Linked DNA regions of Homo sapiens: regions 1 and 3 are each linked to region 2. Evidence: promoter capture Hi-C in 16 types of primary human blood cells and fetal thymus (Javierre and others, 2016). All regions are on one chromosome and are shown on one strand. Each heading gives the region's core, a stretch centred on a gene start or on the middle of the fragment in contact. The rest is flanking DNA. Distances are from core to core; before and after follow the strand shown.

Evidence for each region. The method cuts DNA at HindIII sites, captures the fragments that hold promoters and counts their contacts. A CHiCAGO score of 5 or more calls a contact.
Region 1: a contact is called between the fragment with the promoter of HILPDA here and a fragment that was not itself captured in region 2, in 1 of 17 cell types (neutrophils). The highest score is 5.2, in neutrophils.
Region 3: a contact is called between the fragment with the promoter of IMPDH1 here and a fragment that was not itself captured in region 2, in 1 of 17 cell types (neutrophils). The highest score is 5.1, in neutrophils.

The regions. Positions count from the first base shown.
Region 1 is chr7:128,454,325-128,457,608 of GRCh38, forward strand. HILPDA (hypoxia inducible lipid droplet associated) reads left to right here and starts at 1,554. Exons shown (of 2, transcript NM_013332.4): 1 at 1,554-1,699; 2 at 2,877-3,284. The coding sequence starts at 2,945. The coding sequence ends at 3,136. It also overlaps the pseudogene EFCAB3P1. RefSeq lists enhancers at 1-288, 1,197-1,366 and a silencer at 1,467-1,606. The HindIII fragment of the contact is 2,271 bases long and covers 1-1,603 here.
Region 2 is chr7:127,711,719-127,714,909 of GRCh38, forward strand. All of the region lies in intron 9 of SND1 (staphylococcal nuclease and tudor domain containing 1), which reads left to right. Among named protein-coding and RNA genes, the nearest start is that of SND1, 61 kb to the left of the region's middle. The HindIII fragment of the contact is 5,686 bases long and covers 1-3,191 here.
Region 3 is chr7:128,408,678-128,411,883 of GRCh38, forward strand. IMPDH1 (inosine monophosphate dehydrogenase 1) reads right to left here and starts at 1,305. Exons shown (of 17, transcript NM_000883.4): 1 at 1,079-1,305; 2 at 764-807; 3 at 612-675. The coding sequence starts at 1,224. RefSeq lists a silencer at 832-1,451 and an enhancer at 1,722-1,961. The HindIII fragment of the contact is 8,032 bases long and covers 1-3,206 here.

The sequences.
Region 1 (3,284 bases), core at 304-2,803, 740 kb after region 2:
TGGCAAAGTAGTGGCGTTTGGATCTGGCAGTGATTTCGCAGCTTGAGACCTATTTAATAACAGTGTGAGAGAAGGGTCACACAGTCAAGCAAAAAAACAGACGAAACTCTGGTATAGCGAAGGACCAAAAGTTCTGCGGGCTGAGCAGGAAAGTTGGCTCCAAATGTCTGCCTGCCTGCCAGCAGACCTCCAGCCCCAACCTTCTGCTTTCCCGGCTTCCCCACCCCCTCATTCCCGACAGACCACAGCCAGCCAGCCAGGAAAGGAGGGGAAAGGTCGCAGTGGGGATGGCTCCTCCCTTCCCGTCTTAGAGCCCTTCTTAAGCAGAGCCCGCCGAGCTCGCTGAGATGTGGAAAGTCACAGGGTTCTTTCCCATCCGGCACGGGCACTTGACCCGGGTACACGGAACCGCCAGTTCTAAAGCCACCAGCGGCCTTCCCTTCCACGGCGTGTACACCCCTTCCCGGGGGTCCTCCCCATTCCCAGTGTCTCTCCGGGACTCTACTTTCTGAGATCCCCCGTTGCGTGCTCTCAAGACAGACCGCACAGTCTTGGCTGGGTGGGTTCGGGGGTGATTAGTAAGGCAGCCTAGCCCCCCAAATCTGGACATAAGGCTGGTCTGTGACCTCCTGGCTCTTTAGTTCAAGCCGAAAGCACCCTTAAAAATCATCTAGCGGCCGGGCGCGGTGGCTCACGCCTGTAGCCCCAGCACTTTGGGAGGCAGAGGTGGGAGGATGGCTTGAGATCAGGAGTTCGAGACCAGCCTGGGCAACATAGCGAGACTGTCTCTATTTAAAAAAAAAAAAGAAGAAGAAGAAGAAAAATCATCTAGTGGCCAATGTCTTCATTACAGATGAGAAAACCGAGGCCCATTTAAATACCAAGTGACTTGCCCATATGCAGTTAGGATCCCACACCAGGGCCAGGAGTATTTCACGTTTTCTGAAGCGACACGACAAACTCTCATAGAAAGCAGAGCTTGCAGAGCTTAATATGTTGCACAAGGGCCTCACCATTCCAGAGATACCGATGGCAACTGAAACTCGGGATTTGGAATCTTGGTACAGCTATGAAGTGAAACAAAACCAGCTCTTCAGTCCTTGAAATGAAGAAAATAACGAGTGGGGTAGGGGTCTGGTGCCCTCTGACAATTTAGTGCACCCGAAATCTCTGGGGAAGAACCCACCCTTCACGGCGGGGCTTCACGGACACGAAGGCCATCGGTGTTTTTCACCTACTGGGGAGAAGGGATATGTGCTCTCTGACTCCTTCAAATGTTTTCTACAGCAGAGATGGCAGTCGAGATTAATACACACGCCTCGTCTCACTCCAGAACACAATGACTCAAAACCGCACGACGTGTACTTTTGGAAACAGCTCCGCGGGAGAGCACCCGGGACAATCCCCAAACCCCGTTGCCCGCGGGGTGGGGCCGCGGACGTGCGCCACGTCGTGTGCGTCCCGGGCGTGCGTGCGGCCTCCAGTGCGCGTGCGCGTACCCTCCTGGGGCGTGCTCGCGGCTATAAGGGGCGGAGGCTGGGCGGCGTTGCTCTGCGCTCTGCGGCTGACGGCGCTTTTGTCTCCGGTGAGTTTTGTGGCGGGAAGCTTCTGCGCTGGTGCTTAGTAACCGACTTTCCTCCGGACTCCTGCACGACCTGCTCCTACAGCCGGCGATCCACTCCCGGCTGTTCCCCCGGAGGTGAGCGGCCCTGTGGGCTTCCCCGGCTCCCCACCCCCATCGCTAGAGTGCTCGCCGCGCTAGCAGCCTCGCGTTCCAGGGCTGGGGGTGCGCCGCCGGGATCCTCTCTGATCGCCCACGCCCCATCTGGGGTCCCCATTCAGCCGTCAGCCCTGTTTTGTCCTAAGGTGGTCCTAACTAGGATCCACGTGGCCCATCCCACGCCCACAGGTGCTGAGTTAGGCATCCCTGCCATGCCCTCCCAGAGCACCTTCACGATCTCCTTGCTGTCCCAACACTTAGCGTGTTGCGTGTTAACTACCCTTTGTCTATAAGGTTTGCAATGTGGCCCTAGTATCTTCCAGGGTACCTAACACATTGCAGATATTCATGGTATGTTTGTTAAATAAATGAACTTGATAGATTTGACCCTCATAGAGTTATTTGGACTTGCAAAAAGTTTGTAGTTAACTCCAATCTGTGATGTGGGAGAGACTTCTAGGCAGGTTCCTTTCTCCAGGGCATGTTCTTATATTTCCCATTACCCACCACCCCCCTGCAAAAGGACTGGGCCTATTTCAGGAAGGTGACTGATGCCTGCACTGTAGCACAGGGGTTGTGTATTGTGCCTTGCAGGAACAAAATTTTCAATAAAGTAAATGTTTGTTTGTTTGTTTTTGAGACGGAGTTTTGCTTTTGTTGCCGAGGCTGGAGTGCAATGGCGCGATCTTGGCTCACTGCAACCTCTGCCTCCCGGGTTCAAGCAATTCTGCCTCAGCCTCCCGAGTAGCTGGGATTACAGGCATGTGCCACTATGCCCGGCTAATTTTTGTATTTGTAGTAGAGACAGGGTTTCACCATGTTGGTCAGGCTGGTCTCGAATTCCTGACCTCAGGTGATCCACCCGCCTCGGCCTCCCAGAGCGCTGGGATTACAGGTATGAGCCACCGCGCCTGGCCTAAGAAAGTAAAAGTTTTAAGAAGTGTTCTTGAATTAGTCCAAGAAGCAACACTGGCTCCGCAGCCATGAAGTTTGCAATGTAAAATATTCTTGGAGAGTTGCTGTGCAACTCCCTGGTCCCTGTGTCCCTCACTGGCTAAGCCTCTCCTTCAGCCCTGTGAGAGGACAGAAGAGTCAGGGCTGGATGCATGCATATCCCCAAAAGGCTATAGATTCATCCTTTCCTCTTTTTTCTCAGGGTCCAGAGGCCTTTCAGAAGGAGAAGGCAGCTCTGTTTCTCTGCAGAGGAGTAGGGTCCTTTCAGCCATGAAGCATGTGTTGAACCTCTACCTGTTAGGTGTGGTACTGACCCTACTCTCCATCTTCGTTAGAGTGATGGAGTCCCTAGAGGGCTTACTAGAGAGCCCATCGCCTGGGACCTCCTGGACCACCAGAAGCCAACTAGCCAACACAGAGCCCACCAAGGGCCTTCCAGACCATCCATCCAGAAGCATGTGATAAGACCTCCTTCCATACTGGCCATATTTTGGAACACTGACCTAGACATGTCCAGATGGGAGTCCCATTCCTAGCAGACAAGCTGAGCACCGTTGTAACCAGAGAACTATTACTAGGCCTTGAAGAACCTGTCTAACTGGATGCTCAT
Region 2 (3,191 bases), core at 313-2,812:
TTTTGTGGGCTCATCTTCCAGTTTTTTTCTCCTATTTTCTGTCTCATCTTCTATTCTTTTTAGATTTCTTTATAGTTACCTTTCAGTAGTTTTATTGACATGATACTGTTTTATTTTTTAAGAACTTTTTTTGTTCTCTGCATGTTTCTCTTTTACTATTTTAAAAAATAAAGTTTTATACTGACTTCAGAGATAAAAATCATCTCTTAGCTTTCTGCGAAATTGATTTTTTTTTTTTTAGTTTCATTTTTACTGCGCACTCACTATGTTCTTCAAGCCTCTCCTCTCCCCTTCTTGGGTTATTTTGGTCCCTTATTTTTCATATTAGAGGCTTTCCTCAGATATTTGCTGAGTCTTGGTTTTCTGTCTTATTTGAGAATAAGATATTAAAACACTGAGTTTAGAAGCAATGACCCTAGTGTGGGATTTAGGGTATACATATTTGCTTGTTTGTTTTTGAGACAGGGTCTTGCTCTGTCACCCAGGCTGGAGTGCAGTGGTGCCATCACAGCTCACTGCAGCTTCAAGCTCATGGGCTTAAGCGATCCTCGTGCCTCAGCCTCCCGAATAGCTGGGACTACAGGTGCACGCTAACACACCTGGCTAATTTTTAAATTTTTTGTAGAGATGAGGTCTCCCTATGTTGCCCAGGCTGGTCTTGAACTCCTGGGCTCAAGTGATCCTCCCACCTTGAGCTCCCAAAGTTGCAGGGATTATAGGTGTGACCCACCATGCCTGGCCAGGGTATACATCTTGAAATCCATCTGCTTCTTACAAAGATTTGAAACCATCCATCATTTTTGGTCCCATTTTCATTCCCAATTGAGATGCTTGATTTGACAGTTTCTGAGTCTTGGCAGATTAGGGAGAGTGGGACTGCGGTATAAATCAGATTGCCTATTGTGTTTTCTCGCCACTGTCTCAGGATTTAGCTTTTGTGAGTCAGTGGAGTAAGTTACTACTCATCCATCTGCTTTCCAGCTTCCAGGGTTTTGTTGCAGTGTTCTCTCTCATTATCTTCTTCCTTTTGGGCTTATGTATAGATACGTTTTACAGATCCCTTTTATCTAGAGGTGTTTAGAGAGGGACCCAAAATAAAGAGCTTACTTCTTTAATTGATGTGTAATATTTCATTGTAGGCTGCAACATAATATTTTTGACCAGTCTCTAATAGGTTTATATTCATGTAGTTGAGAATTTTTTTCGTTATTTAGAAAGTGGAATAAATCTCCAAGTAATTGGCAGTTATTTCCTTAGAAATTATTTGGCTCACATTTGCCAAACATGTCTTTAGAAATGTTAACCAGTATATACCACTAAGTGTGTTCATTTTCTAATATGTTGTAAAACAGGGATTGGACAGCTTTTTCTTAAAGGACCACATTGTAAATATTTTAGGCTTGGTGGCCATGTGGTCTCTGTTGCAACTACTGAACCCTGCCATGGTAGCAGGAGAACAGACATGGACAGTGTGTAAATGAATGGTTGTGGCAATATTCCAGGAAAACTTTATAACAATATGAAGTGGGCTGGATGGCCCTTGGGCCATAGTTTGCCAGCCTTTCTTGTAGAACACTGGATAGCAACATTAAGTTAAAAATGGAAAAAAATACATGCATTACTTTTCATAACCTGGAACTCAACAGCAGTTCTGTATCATTTTACCTGATTTAAAATATCTGTTAGTGGCAAACAGCTTTTTTCAGGGAATCCTAAAAAAGTTCTAAGATACCTGGGACCTTCACATAGTCTGAAAGTCCTGCAAGTCTTCCCTGAGTGATTCTGCTTTCAAGATCATGTGATTGTGAAGCCTTAACAAATAGTGATTCTCTCTTCAACAATCACCCTGTTTTTTAGGAATTAATTGTACAGGGCCCCGCTAAAAGCCTCAAAAGCCTGCAAAGGGTAACCTATGGCCTCTAACTGGATGCCTCTGGGGCTCTACAGTTGATTTCTGGAACTGAGGCAAAGCTGTAGGTCAGAGTGCCAAGAGGCTTATTAAGCCTGAGAAATGTGAAACTTGACAAAGTATTCTCTGATACATGTGGCCTATTGAGAGACTGGTTCCCTTTGTCTGCTTAAGCAGTTTTACTTCTTGAGGAATGAAATGCAAAGGAAGGGCTCTCCTTGTCTTTCCAGGTTAGCAGAGAAGCATGTTCACTTCACAGCGATTAGCTGAGCTTGCCCGAGACTTTTGTGCCCGTCGTGGCCTGCCAGTTCCCTCCCTGCCTTCCCTGTGGCGTTTTAGCTGATCTGTGCTGTTTGTAGCCATATGGTCCCCTGAGCACGTGGCTTGGCTTCCCTGTTCCTGCTGCTGGATCCTTGGGCATTGCAGATTTCACAGACCTGAATAACATTGTTGTGGGGGGTGGGGGAGGGATGGAGTGGAATCATGTCCTCAAGAGGTGTCTCCTTACCACCCTACCTGGTTAGAGGCTTCTTGCTTGGTCCTCTGTACCTATATATAGATTAAGCAGAGCCCTGAACTAGGTGCTTTGAAAAGATGTAAAATAACTAGAAGTGGTTCCTGCCTTCAAGGAGCTTACCTGCTAGGGCTTTGTCTGGGAGCAGTAAGTGGTTAACTGGCATTGGTGGCCAAGTCCAGTTTTGGAGATCAGGATATAAACTGTCCATGGGTACAGTAGATTTTAAAATGTATTTGGTTTTATTTACCCTGATAGTTTTTTGCTGTGCTTCCAGTCATAGCTCTAGATGGAGTTCATTATCATGTCTCTGAGAATTTTTTTCCTCAAATTGTTTATAATGACAAAATTCATAACATAATATGTAGTATCTTAACGATTTTTAAGTGTACAGTTCAGTGGTATTTATATTCATATTGCTATGTAGCTATCACCACCACATATCTCTACAACTCTTCATTTTATAAAACTGAAACTATACTCATTAAGCAATAACTCTACATCCCTCTGTTTCCCCTCTTCCAGGCCCTGGCAACCACAATTCTACTTTTTGCTTCTGTGATTTTGACTACTCTAAGTAATTCATATAAGTGAAATCAGACAGTCTGTGTCTTTGTGACTGTCTTATTTCATTTAGCATAGTGTCCTCAGGGTTCATCCATGTTGTTGGATGAGTCAGAATTTTCTTCCTTTTTAAGGGTAAATAATATTCCATTGTATGTGTATACATTTTGCTTACAACCTGTTCATGTGTCCATGGGGACACAC
Region 3 (3,206 bases), core at 55-2,554, 700 kb after region 2:
GCAACCCCTACTCTAACCAAGCACTGCCTCTGTCAAGCCCCAACCGGCTCATTCAGCCCCTGTGGCCCCTCCCTATCGCCCTGCGGCCTGAACCCCAGGAGCTGGATTTCTAGGACAGGAGAAAGGCTGGGAGTTGCCTAAGCCTGAGTCAATTCTAGAGAGGCAGCCTGCCAGGACAGGGGGGCCTAACTCAGCAGCCCCACTGCCGAGGAGCCCCTTAAGCCGTTAAAAGTTCTTACATAAGCGGCCAACCCCTGGGCAGAGCTGCCGGGCTAATTCCCCCAGACCACCCCCATCTAACCCAGCTGCCAGGTCACCTCCCCAAGCTGCTGAACACCAGCAGATGGGCAGAGAAAGAAGTCCAAATCCTCTGGACCGGAAGGACAGTGGGATTGCATTTCAAGCTGCGATACAATCCAGAGATTAGCTGCTGTCTCCTTTTCAGCCAGTCCCCCTGGGGCCCAGCTCACTACCCTACTCTTCCTCCAGTGTCCCTCATTCCCCTACAGACCCCAGCATGGGGGCCTGCGTCTTCGGAGAGACCTTGAGGTGAGCTGCACTGGCAGCCTCTCAGATCTCAGTGCATGGTGAGGAGGGGAGAGTGTCCTCACCTAGCCCTGCGAAGGCGATCCATCTGGACACCAACACCTGCCAGTAAGACCACTGAAGATAGTTCTAGGAGGAAACAGCTAAGGAGGGGTAAGCCAAGTCAGTCGGACAGGACTCCAGCAAGCACTGTTTGAACCCCAGGAGTTGGAGCCACCTGAACGGGGTGTCGTCGGGTGTGTAGCGAGGTCCAATCTAGGGCTAAGATTTTAGGGAAGGTTTTTACGACCTGTTCCCTCTCCTCCGCTCCCCCGTGCAACGAAGCACCTAACCCTTCGCACAGTGCCCGTCTGCATCCCCCAACCAAAGCCGGGAGCGTGGCGTTTCGGGAAGTTAGAGGCTGAGGCGGTAATAGGGGAAGGGTTTGTGGGGCCTGCCCCTCCCCCGCAGCGTCGCCGGGTTCCCGGAGCCGCCGCGCCCTCCTCGGCCGCCCGCCCCGGATGCGCCCCGCGCGCTCTGCCCTGGGCGTCACCTCTCGGGCTCGTAGCCGGCCTGCAGCAGTCGGGCGCTGTACCGCTGCGCCGCCGTCTCGTGTCCCGGGTGTTGCCGGGCTCCGGGCTCCGGAACAGCGGCGGCTCCGCCTCCCTGCAGCGGTGGTGGAGTGAGTGGCCCCTCCATGCGGAGGCCGCAGCTCAGGGCGGGCGGGAGCCTGGAGGCTCCCGGGGCCCCGGCTGGGCAGTGAGCGCAGCCCGGTCGAGTCCCGAGGAGGGGCGGGGCCGCCGGGGCGGGGCCTCGTGCCGGGGGCGGGGCAGGGGAATCCGGGAGTCGACTGGGCTCCGCCCTGGGCTCCCCGCTCTCCCCGGCGCTGCTACGCAGATGCCTAGACTCGGTTCGTCTCTCCCATCCCAGATTCAGCGAGGGTACATCGGGGGATGAGGGGGAGAGGTGTCCCTACACGGGTGGGACTGGAAAGAACCCCGTCCCCTTCCCTGCCGTCCGGACCTTCCAGTGTCTCCTGGCCCCTTCCGAGGAAAACCAGAAGAGGAAAGGAGCTGGACTCCAGAGGCAGGGCTTCTCCTTGCGTCTCAGGTCCGCTCCTCTCTTGCACGCCGACGATGCCAGGTCCCCTGGAGCGCCTCATACCCGCAGACCGCAGACCTCCCGCGCTGGGGCGAGAGAGTCGTGCTCAGCCGACTCCACGTTAGAGAGCGGGGAGAGGGATCTCCACAGCCTGTAATCTGCCAGGGAACGAACAGAACAGACAAGGCTGCGGGCTCCTTAAGGAACAGGACCTAGTCTTGCCTCGTTGTGGAGGTACTTTACCTTGTTATGTTACCCCGTAACAAGGGAGTGGGGCAGAGCAGTGTACTCAAACTTGTTTGTCCACTTACTAGAAGGCGCACTTTTTCCTACTGTTATCATTGTGAACGGTGATTGAACACCTAGCAAAAATGGCAAAGAAATGTAAGAGTCCTTGCCCTCAGGCAATTTATTTCAGGAGACAAAGTAGATGAAAATAAACAGCTGATAATTCTCATGCCATATACAGATGGTCCTCGACTTACAATGGTTGACTTAAGATTTTTCAACCTTACAGATGGATTTACCCTGAGGTAGCCCCATCTTTAAGTCGAGAAGAATCTGGAAATTTTATTTTATTTTATTTTATGTTATGTTATTTATTTTTTATTTTATTTGAGACGGAGTCTCGCTCTGTCGCCCAGGCTGGAGTGCAGTGGCGCGATCTCGGCTCACTGCAAGCTCCGCCTCCCGGGTTCACGCCATTCTCCTGGCGCAGCCTCCAGAGTAGCTGGGACTACAGGCGCCCGCCACCACGCCCAGCTAATTTTTTGTATTTTTAGTACAGACGGGGTTTCACCGTGTTAGCCAGGATGGTCTCGATCTTCTGACCTTGTGATCCGCCCGCCTCGGCCTCCCAAAATGCTGGGATTACAGGCGTGAGCCACCGCGCCCGGCGCATCTGGACTTTTGTCTGACAAGTCTGAGGGAACAAATGGTAAACACTGCGTGATTGAGGAGTGCTAAGATGTATTAGGGGTCAGACTTTCAGCAACGATTTCACAAAGGAAGCTGAATTTATGCAACAGTAAGATCTTGGACTTTATCCTTCATCGTGCCTCTTCCTATGCACATACACACCCACTCCCCAGAATCAGGATTCTTTTTTTATTTAAGTTTTTTAAAATTTAGGTTGGGCGCAGTGGCTTATGCCTGTAATCTCAACACTTCGGGAGGCTGAGGCGGTCAGATCACCTGAGGTCAGGAGTTCCAGACCAGCCTGGCCAACATGGCGAAACTCCATGTCTACTAAAAAATACAAAATTAGGCTGGGCACGGTGGCTCACACCTGTAATCCCAGCACTTTGGGAGGCTGAGGCTGACGGATCACGAGGTCAAGAGACTGAGACCATCCTGGCCAACATGGTGAAACCTTGTCTCTACTAAAAACACAAAAATTAGCTGGGCATGGTGGTGTGCGCCTGTAGTCCCAGCGACTTGGGAGGCTGAGGCAGGAGAATCGCTTGAACCCGGGGGGCGGAGATTGCAGTGAGCCGAGATCGCACACTGCACTCCAGCCTGGTGACAGAGTGAGACTCTGTCTCCAAAAAAAAAAAAAAATTGCCAGCTATGTTGGTGCA